3 separate regions of the Homo sapiens genome follow, and all the other regions are linked to region 1. Evidence: promoter capture Hi-C in 16 types of primary human blood cells and fetal thymus (Javierre and others, 2016). All regions are on one chromosome and are shown on one strand. Each heading gives the region's core, a stretch centred on a gene start or on the middle of the fragment in contact. The rest is flanking DNA. Distances are from core to core; before and after follow the strand shown. Region 1 holds the start of KLK2 (kallikrein related peptidase 2). Region 2 overlaps LOC124904746 (a long non-coding RNA gene). Region 3 overlaps MYH14 (myosin heavy chain 14).

The links. The method cuts DNA at HindIII sites, captures the fragments that hold promoters and counts their contacts. A CHiCAGO score of 5 or more calls a contact.
Region 2: a fragment that was not itself captured here is called in contact with the fragment with the promoter of KLK2 in region 1 in 4 of 17 cell types (total B cells, naive CD4 T cells, monocytes and 1 more); the score reaches 8.5 in total B cells.
Region 3: a fragment that was not itself captured here is called in contact with the fragment with the promoter of KLK2 in region 1 in 7 of 17 cell types (total CD8 T cells, naive B cells, non-activated CD4 T cells and 4 more); the score reaches 7.6 in total CD8 T cells.

Annotation. Positions count from the first base shown.
Region 1 is chr19:50,871,505-50,875,031 of GRCh38, forward strand. KLK2 (kallikrein related peptidase 2) reads left to right here and starts at 1,935. Exons shown (of 5, transcript NM_005551.5): 1 at 1,935-2,015; 2 at 3,217-3,376. The coding sequence starts at 1,970. RefSeq lists promoters at 1-1,960, 1,335-1,960, 1,607-1,960, an enhancer at 1,759-1,773 and a cis regulatory region at 1,759-1,773. The HindIII fragment of the contact is 10,018 bases long and covers 1-3,527 here.
Region 2 is chr19:50,180,994-50,184,520 of GRCh38, forward strand. All of the region lies in intron 1 of LOC124904746 (a long non-coding RNA gene), which reads right to left. Among named protein-coding and RNA genes, the nearest start is that of IZUMO2, 19 kb to the left of the region's middle. The HindIII fragment of the contact is 446 bases long and covers 1,458-1,903 here.
Region 3 is chr19:50,281,552-50,285,078 of GRCh38, forward strand. MYH14 (myosin heavy chain 14) reads left to right here. Exons shown (of 43, transcript NM_001145809.2): 33 at 43-291. Among named protein-coding and RNA genes, the nearest start is that of KCNC3, 46 kb to the right of the region's middle. The HindIII fragment of the contact is 674 bases long and covers 1,485-2,158 here.

The DNA of each region.
Region 1 (3,527 bases), core at 685-3,184:
AGGTTATCATGGGGATGAGGATATGCTTGGGACACTGGATTCAGGTGGTTCTCATTCAAGCTGAGGCAAATTTCCTTTCAGACGGTCATTCCAGGGAACGAGTGGTTGTGTGGGGGAAATCAGGCCACTGGCTGTGAATATCCCTCTATCCTGGTCTTGAATTGTGATTATCTATGTCCACTTCTGTCTCCTTCACTGTACTTGGAATTGATCTGGTCATTCAGCTGGAAATGGGGGAAGATTTTGTCAAATTCTTGAGACACAGCTGGGTCTGGATCAGCGTAAGCTGCTCTGGTTTTATTGAACAGATGAAATCACATTTTTTTTTTCAAAATCAAAGAAATCTTATAGAGTTAACAGTGGACTCTTATAATAAGAGTTAACACCAGGACTCTTATTCTTGATTCTTTTCTGAGACACCAAAATGAGATTTCTCAATGCCACCCTAATTCTTTTTTTTTTTTTTTTTTTTTTTGAGACACAGTCTGGGTCTTTTGCTCTGTCACTCAGGCTGGAGCGCAGTGGTGTGATCATAGCTCACTGAACCCTTGACCTCCTGGACTTAAGGGATCCTCCTGCTTCAGCCTCCTGAGTAGATGGGGCTACAGGTGCTTGCCACCACACCTGGCTAATTAAATTTTTTTTTTTTTTTTGTAGAGAAAGGGTCTCACTTTGTTGCCCTGGCTGATCTTGAACTTCTGACTTCAAGTGATTCTTCAGCCTTGGACTCCCAAAGCACTGGGATTGCTGGCATGAGCCACTCACCGTGCCTGGCTTGCAGCTTAATCTTGGAGTGTATAAACCTGGCTCCTGATAGCTAGACATTTCAGTGAGAAGGAGGCATTGGATTTTGCATGAGGACAATTCTGACCTAGGAGGGCAGGTCAACAGGAATCCCCGCTGTACCTGTACGTTGTACAGGCATGGAGAATGAGGAGTGAGGAGCCACCGGAACCCCATATTGTTTAGTGGACATTGGATTTTGAAATAATAGGGAACTTGGTCTGGGAGAGTCATATTTCTGGATTGGACAATATGTGGTATCACAAGGTTTTATGATGAGGGAGAAATGTATGTGGGGAACCATTTTCTGAGTGTGGAAGTGCAAGAATCAGAGAGTACTGAATGCCAACGCTTCTATTTCAGGAACATGGTAAGTTGGAGGTCCAGCTTCTGGGCTCAGACGGGTATAGGGACCAGGAAGTCTCACAATCCGATCATTCTGATATTTCAGGGCATATTAGGTTTGGGGTGCAAAGGAAGTACTTGGGACTTAGGCACATGAGACTTTGTATTGAAAATCAATGATTGGGGCTGGCCGTGGTGGCTCACGCCTGTAATCTCATCACTTTGGGAGACCGAAGTGGGAGGATGGCTTGAGCCCAGGAGTTGGAGACCAGCCTAGGCAACATAGCCAGACCCTCTCTCTACAAAAAAATTAAAAATTAGCTGGATGTGGTGGTGCATGCTTGTGGTCTCAGCTATCCTGGAGGCTGAGACAGGAGAATCGGTTGAGTCTGGGAGTTCAAGGCTACAGGGAGCTGCGATCACGCCGCTGCACTCCAGCCTGGGAAACAGAGTGAGACTGTCTCAGAATTTTTTTAAAAAAGAATCAGTGATCATCCCAACCCCTGTTGCTGTTCATCCTGAGCCTGCCTTCTCTGGCTTTGTTCCCTAGATCACATCTCCATGATCCATAGGCCCTGCCCAATCTGACCTCACACCGTGGGAATGCCTCCAGACTGATCTAGTATGTGTGGAACAGCAAGTGCTGGCTCTCCCTCCCCTTCCACAGCTCTGGGTGTGGGAGGGGGTTGTCCAGCCTCCAGCAGCATGGGGAGGGCCTTGGTCAGCATCTAGGTGCCAACAGGGCAAGGGCGGGGTCCTGGAGAATGAAGGCTTTATAGGGCTCCTCAGGGAGGCCCCCCAGCCCCAAACTCACCACCTGGCCGTGGACACCTGTGTCAGCATGTGGGACCTGGTTCTCTCCATCGCCTTGTCTGTGGGGTGCACTGGTGAGATTGGGGGGATAAAGGAAGGGGGGCGGGTTCTGACTCTTATGCTGAAGCCCTTTTCCTCCCACCCAGTGCCCCAGCCTCGTCCCTTCAGCCCACAGTTCAGCCCAGACAATGTGCCCCTGACTCTTCCACATTGCAATAGTCCTCATGCCCACACTAGGTCCCCGCTCCCTCCCACTTACCTCAGACCTTTCTCTCCATTGCCCAGCCAAATCCCTGCTCCCAGCTGCTTTACTAAAGAGCAAGTTCCTGGGCATCTCTGTGTTTCTCTTTATGGGGTTCAAAACCTTTCAAGGACCTCTCTCCATGCCACTGGTTCCTTGGACCCTATCACTGGGCTGCCTCCTGAGCCCCTCAGTCCTACCACAGTCTACTGACTTTTCCTATTCAGCTGTGAGCATTCAACCCTGTCCCCTGGACCTTGACACCTGGCTCCCCAACCCTGTCCCAGGAAACCCAGATTCCACCAGACACTTCCTTCTTCCCCCCGAGGCTATCTGGCCTGAGACAACAAATGCTGCCTCCCACCCTGAGTCTGGCACTGGGACTTTCAGAACTCCTCCTTCCCTGACTCTTTGCCCCAGACCCGTCATTCAATGGCTAGCTTTTTCCATGGGAAAAACACGAGCACCCCCAACCACAACGGCCAGTTCTCTGATTCCCTAAATCCGCACCCTTTTCAAAACCTCAAAAACAAAACAAAACAAAACAAAGCAAGAAACAACTCAGGCAGAACTGTTTGCTTAACCTTGGACATGGTAAACCATCCAAAACCTTCCTCTCCCAGCAACTAAACCTCTCCACTGGGCACTTATCCTTGGTTTCTGGAACCTCTTATTCTCTTAGAACCCACAGCTGCCACCACAGTGTCCCTTCTCCCAGTGTAAGACCCCAAATCACTCCAAATGACCCAACCCCCAACCCGATGCCTGCTTCAGATGTTTCCCATGTCCCCTACTCTGATCTCTGGGGTCAGCTCCGTTCTCAGAGCATGAAGCCTCCCGACCTGGTCCAGCCACCAACCCGCTAACGCAGGGAATAGCTACAGAATTGCCAGCCCTCCCAGGACCCCTTGCTTGTGTCCTGGACTCCCAGTCCTGGTCCTCTGCCCCCATGTCTCTTCAAACCCACAGCTCAGCTCCCTCCCCTATCCAATTCTTTTGGGTCTGATCCCCCTGACCCAGCACCCCCTCCGCAGGTGCCGTGCCCCTCATCCAGTCTCGGATTGTGGGAGGCTGGGAGTGTGAGAAGCATTCCCAACCCTGGCAGGTGGCTGTGTACAGTCATGGATGGGCACACTGTGGGGGTGTCCTGGTGCACCCCCAGTGGGTGCTCACAGCTGCCCATTGCCTAAAGAAGTAAGTAGGACCCTGGGATCTGGGGAGGGAATGGCTGTGTCCCACAGGAATAACAGCGGGATGCTTCCCCCAGGGTCACTTCTCAGGTGAGGCTTCAGACTAAAGGAGAGAGGGAAGGTCCTGGCCCAGGTCGCACCCGGAGGCAGAGCTG
Region 2 (3,527 bases), core at 431-2,930, 690 kb before region 1:
GTAGCAGCATCAGCATCACCTGGAGTTTATATTAAAAATACAGAACCTCCACCCCACCCTGGACCTGCTGAATCAGAATTTTAAGATCCCTCACAACATTAACTGCGGGAGGGATGCTGTGTCCTTGATGCATGACATCAAGAGGTCTCTGATGTCAGCAGGTCCCACAACGGGTGATACTAACTTTGATCCCATGCTTAAGATGCTGTCTACCCAGTTTCTCCTCTGTAAAGTTACTCTTTCTCACACAGAGCTCATTTGATGGCTTTTACCAACGCACATTTTTAGAGCATATGAAACTGTGAGAATCCCTGATCTAGAGAGTATTGCTCAATAACCATAGGTGTAATGACCCATGTTTGTAATAACAGCCCTGAGTCAAGGAAAGAGCTGATTAATTACGGCATCTGTGGGAGGTAATTTAGCTTAATGGGTAAGAGTTCAGACTTGGAGGCACCAAATTAGGGACGCAGGTAGCCAAAGCGCAGAGGTTTAAAACTTCTACCTTCACTGTACTTTTGTTTCCTATTCTCAGTATTCAGCTCCTTACTATGTTCTCTCTATCCCCCTGTTGCCTTGTTTTGTTGTATTTTTTTTGAAACAGGGTCTCTCTCTGTCACCCAGGCTGCAGTGCAGTGGCGCGATCTTGGCTCACTGCAACCTCTGCCTCCTGGGTTCAAGTGATTCTCCTGTCTCAGCCTCCCAAATAGTTGGGATTACGGGCATGTGCCACCACACCTGGCTAATTTTTGTAGTTTTGTAGTAGAGATGGGGTTTCACTATGTTGGCCAGGCTGGTCTCGAACTCCTGACCTCAGGTGATCCACCCTCCAGGGTCTTTCTCTGTTGCCCACGCTGCAGTGCAGTGGTGCAATCATAGCTCACTGCAGCCTTGAACTCCTGGGCTCATGCGATCCTCCTGCCTCAGCCTCCAGAGTAGTTGGGACTACAGGCATGTGCTACCATGCCCGGCTAACTTTTTGATTCTCGGTAGAGACAGGAGTAGAGGCTGGCCTCGAACTCCTGACCTCAAATGATCCGCCCGCCTTAGCCACCCAAAGTGCTGGGATTACAGGCATGAGCCATTACGCTCAGCCTTGTTCAGCATTTTTAAAAGCTTCACTGCCTGCCCAGCGTGATGGCTCACACCTGTAATCCCAGCACTTTGGGAGGCCGAGTGGGGCAGATCATGAGGTCAGCGATTTGAGACCAGCCTGACCAACATGGTGAAACCCCGTCTCTACTAAAAATACAAAAACCAGCCAAGTGTGGTGGCAGGCACCTGTAGTCCCAGCTACTTGGGAAGCTGAGGCAGGAGAATCGCTTGAACCCGGGGTGGGGGGGCAGAGGTTGCAGTGAGCTGAGATCGTGCCACTGCACTCTAGCCTGGTGACAGAGCGAGACACCATCTAAAAAATAAAAATAAATAAAAATAAAATAAATAAATAAATAAATAAAAGCTTCACCGCCTGACATTATGTCAAACATTTTATTGTTTACTTGTTCATTGTCTCTTCCATGAGAAGTTGAGATCCAGGAGGACAGACACTCTGGCTTGTCTATGGGGGTATTCTCAGTTCACAGCACAGTGCCCAGCATACGGTAGGTGCTTAAAAAATTGTGTTGAATTTTTAAAAATGTGAGCACTGGAATCAGACTCACATGAGTTCAAATCCCAGCTCTGCCCCTTACTTATCTGTCTCTAAGTCTGTTTCTGTGTTGGTGAAATTGAGATAATGGTGCTGAAAGGGTTAAAGAAATATGATGCATGTGAAGGTTTTGCCATATATGGCTTTTGAAAACCTTTTTATTTTGAAATAATTTCAGACTTAACAAAAAAGTTGCAAAAATAATGCAAAGAATTCTCATACAAAATAATGCAAAGAATTCTCACTCTTCACCCAAGCTTCTCCAAAGGTTGAAACTTTTCATAACCACAGTAAAATATTATGAAATAAACATGGTAACATTTCTGTGGACTAATCTACGAACCCTTTCCCTCCCTCCCTCCCTCCCTCCCTCCCTTCCTTCTTTCCTTCCTTCCTTCCTTCCTTCCTCCTCCTTCCCCTCCTTCCCTCCCTCCTTCCCTTCTTTCTCTCTCTCTTTCTCTTTCTTTCCCTCCCCTCCCTTCCCCTCCCCTCCCCTCCCTTCCCTTCCTTCCTTCCTTCCTTCTTTCCTTCCTTCCATCCTTCCTTCCTTCCTTCCTTCCGACAGAGTCTCACTGTGTTGCCCAGGCTGGAGTGTGGTGGCACAGTCACAGCCACTGCAGGCTTGACCTCCCAGGCTCAAGCAATCCTTGAGCCAAGACCTGGGTCACCTACTGATTTCTTTTTGTTACAGGCGTGTGCCACCATGTCTGGCAATTTTTTTTTTTTAATTTTGTAGAGATAGGGGTCTCTCGGCTGGGCGTGGTGGCTCGTGCCTGTAATCCCAGCACTTTGGGAAGCCGAGGCAGGCAGATCACCTGAGGTCAGGAGTTCGAGACCAGCCTTGCCAACATGGTGAAACCCTGTCTCTACTAAAAATACAAAAATTAGCCGGGCGTGGTGGCACGTGCCTGTAATCCCTGCTACTCCGGAGGCTGAGGCAGGAGAATCGCTTGAACCCAGGAAGCGGAGTTTGCTGTGAGCCAAGATCATGCCACTGCACTCCAGCCTGGGCGACAGAAAAAGACTCCGTCTCAAAAATACAAAAATTAGCCGGGCGTGGTGGTGGGCGCCTGTAATCCCAGCTACTTGGGAGGCTGAGGCAGGAGAATCGCTTGAACCCGGGAGGTGGAGGTTGCGGTGAGCCGAGACTGTGCCACTGCACTCCAGCTTGGGCAACAAGAGCAAAACCTCGTCTCAAAAAAAAAATAATAATAATAAATAAAAATAAAGAGAGAAATGACTGATTCATATAACAACATGGATGAATATCAAAAGCTTTACGTGGAGTGAAAGAAACACAAAAGATCATCTACTATAGGATTCTATTTATAAAAAGCTCTAGAACAGACAAAACTAATCTGTGGTGATAAAAAGCAGAACATTAGTTGCCTGGGGGTGGGTGGAGGTGCGAGTTGGCTGGGGAGAGTGTCAGGTAACTTTCTAGGACATGGAAATGTTCTATTTTTTTCTAGTTGGGTGTATACGTTTGTCAAAACTCATTGAATGGTATACTTAGCAATTGTACATTTAACTGTCTGTAAATTTTACCTAAATAAAAGGAACCCTAAACAAATATTGAAATTGAATTAATGATGTGTGCAATGAAGTGTTTATGGCTGAAGCCTACTGACGTCTGCAGATTATTCTAATGAATGGATAAGCTGCAGTTTCTCAACTCCAGCACTATTGACATTTGAGGCCAGAGAATTATTTGTTGTGGGAGGCTGTCCTGTGCATTGTAGGATGTGGTTGACATCCTGGCCTCTACCCACTAAATGCCAGCAGCACTCCCACACACACAGGTTGACAGTAATAAATGTTTCCAGACATTGCCAATGTCCCTGGGGGGACAAATTTGTCCTTGGTTTAGAATTGCTTA
Region 3 (3,527 bases), core at 572-3,071, 590 kb before region 1:
CATGGCCGTGACCACCAACCACCCTCTCTCTCCTCCCCTCAGCTTTCCGAGTGGCGGCGGCGCCAGGAGGAGGAGGCAGGGGCACTGGAGGCAGGGGAGGAGGCACGGCGCCGGGCAGCCCGGGAGGCCGAGGCCCTGACCCAGCGCCTGGCAGAAAAGACAGAGACCGTGGATCGGCTGGAGCGGGGCCGCCGCCGGCTGCAGCAGGAGCTGGACGACGCCACCATGGACCTGGAGCAGCAGCGGCAGCTTGTGAGCACCCTGGAGAAGAAGCAGCGCAAGTTTGACCAGGTGGGGCACCTCAGTTCACCCAGCCGGGGAATCAGCAAGTCCATCTACGCTTCCCATGGTCGTTGTGAGGAACCAGTAATCCGTGCTGTCACGGCTCAACTAGGCAGTTGTAGTGGACCAGGAAGCAAGACCCTTCTTTGCTCTGGGCCTCTGTAAAATAGGACATCCCTCTGTCCTGATTCATGCCTCTTGCCACAGCATAATTCCTCGTAGCACCCACTTTTACTTTCAGAGCTGCCCTGGTTTTTGGATGACAAAATATACGAATACCTTCAGTACCCCAGAGATTGCTTATGAGAATTAAATCAAATAACTCATCTCACTTCTGCTGATTCACGGGGTACCTCAGGCAAGTTGCTTTTTCCATCTCAGCTTCAGTTCGCCCATCTGGAAAATGGCAATAATACCAAGCATCTGGCAGCCTGAGGATGAAATAAAAATCACAGAACCTTAGAGAGTTCAGATCAGGCAATCCTGAGGTTCAGATCCCAATTCGGCCTCTTGATGGCTGTGTGGCTTGGGCAAATTGCTCAACCTCTCTGTGCTTTATTTTATTCATTTAGAAAATGCAGTGTGAAGCTGGGCACTGTGGCTCATGCCTGTAATCCCAGCACTTTGGGAGGCCAAGGCGGGCGGATTGCCTGAGCTCAGGAGTTCACAACCAGCATGGGCAACACGGTGAAACCCCGTCTCTACTAAAATACAAAAAAATTAGCTGGGCATGGCGGTGTGCGCCTGTAATCCTAGCTACTCGGGAGGCTGAGGCAGGAGAATCACTTGAACTGGAAAGGCGGAGGTTGCAGTGAGCCAAGATCGTGCCACTGCACTCCGGCCTGGGTGATAGAGCAAGACTCCATCTCAAAAAAAAAATAAAAAATTAAAAAAAATTTTTTTAAATTGTCATTTCCCTGTAGGTGGTGCAGTATGTTTTTCTAGCTGACTTACGATTTCTCTCTTTATGTTTGGTTCTTAGTGGTTTGACTGTGATATGCCCAGCTGTGGGTTTTTTGTATTTATCCTGCTTTAGATTCACTGTGCTTCCTGTAGCTGTGGGTTGATGTTTTTGATCAAATGTGGAACATTTCAGCCATTATTTCTTCAAATATTTTTATCTCCCACTCTCTCTCCTTCCCCTTCTTCTTGGACTCCAAATACATATGATTTGATTGTAATACTCTTCCACAGGTCATTGAAGCTTTATTATTTTTGGCATCTTCTGGAATTTTATATAAATTATTTTCACATAAATCTCTTTTGGGATGGGCTTATTTTACTCAAAATAATTTTTTTTTTTTGAGACAGAGTCTCGCTGTGTCACCAAGGCTAGAGTGCAGTGGCACGATCTCAGCTCACTGCAACCTCCACCTCTCAGGTTCAAGCGATTCTCGTGCCTCAGCCTCCCAAGTAGCTGGGATTACAGGTGTGCACCACCATGCCTGGCTAATTTTTGTGTTTTTAATAGAGACGAGGTTTCACCATTTTGGCAAGGCTGGTCTCGAACTCCTGGCTTCAAGTGATCCACCCACCTCGGCCTCCCGAAGTGCTGGGATTATAGGAGTAAGCTACCGCACCCAGCCTCAAAATAATTAGTCTGAGATCCATCCATATTTTTGCATATCAATAATGTATTCCATGTATCAATAATGTATTTTTGCTGCTGAATATTATTCCTGTGGTATAGATCAGCCACATTTTGATATTCATTAACCTTTTGATGAACATTTGGGTTTTTTTCCAGTTTTTTTCTAGTTATGGATAAAACCTTAGTCTTTCTCAAAGGTGGTTTTAATTAACATTTCCCTAATGACCAGTGACGTTGAGCATCTTTTCATATGCTTATTTGCCATCCATATATCTTATTTGCTGAAGCTTCTGTTCAGATCTTTTGCCTATTTGTTAATTAATGTTGTTTGTTTTACTATTATTGAATTTTGAAAATTCTTTATGGGCCGGGCACGGTGGCTCATGCCTGGTAATCCCAGCACTTTGGGAGGCCAAGGCAGGCAGATCACCTGAGGTTGGGAGTTTGAGACCAGCCTGACCAACATGGAGAAACCCCGTCTCTACTAAAAATACAAAATTAGGTAGGCATGGTGGTGCATGCCTGTAATCCCAGCTACTTGGGAGGCTGAGGCAGGAGAATCGCTTGAATCTGGGAGGCGGAGGTTGTGGTGAGCCGAGATCATGCCATTGCACTCCAGCCTGGGCAACAAGAGTGAAACTCTGTCTCAAAAAAACAAAACAAAAAACAAAAAAAAAACAAAAAAAAAGAAAGAAGTTATTTATGTATTCTAAATGCAAGTTCTTTATCAGATATATGCTTTGCAAATATTTTTGTCCAGTCTGTGGCTTTTCTTTCCATTCTGTTAGAGTCTTTCAAAGAACAGAAGTTTTTAATTTTGTCCAATTTATCAATTTGTTGTTTTATAGATTGTGCTTTTAGTATTGTATATAAGAAATTTTTGCCTAACTCAAGGTCACAAAGGTTTTATCCTGGTTTTTTTCTTGTTTTCTTTTTGTTTGTTTGTTTGTTTTGTTTTTTGAGACGGAGTCTTGCACTGTTGCCCGGGCTGGAGTGCAGTGGCATGATCTTGGCTTACTGCAACCTCTGCCTCCTGGGGTCAAGCGATTCCTCCTGTCTCAGCCTACCAAGTAGCTGGGATTACAGGCACATGCCGCCACACCCGGCTAATTTTTTTATTTTTATTTTTTTTTTATTTTTTATTTTTAGTAAAGACAGGGTTTCACTATGTTGGCCAGGCTAGTCTCAAACTCCTGACCTTGTGATCCACCTGCCTCGGCCTCCCAAAGCACTGGGATTACAGGCATGAGCCACTGCACCCGGCCTATCCTGTTTTTTTTTTCTGGAAGTCTTCCAGTTTCAAGTTTACATTTAGGTCTGTGATTTATTCTGAGTTAATTTTTACATATGATGCTATCATGGCTCCATGTTAATTTTTGTGAATATAAATATCCAAGTATTCCAACACTGCTCTCCACTGACTTGTTTTTGCATATCTATTGAAAGTCATTTTTCTTCTTCTTCTTCTCCTCCTTCTTTTTCTTCTTCTTCTTCTTTTTTTTTTTTTTTTTGCCCAGGCTGGAGTGCAGTGGCGTGATCTTGGCTTGCTGCAACTTCTGCTTCCCGGGTTCAAGCAATTCTCCCACCTCAGCCTCCCGAGTGGCTTGGATTACAGGTGTGCGCCACCACACCTGGCTAATTTTTGTATTTTTAG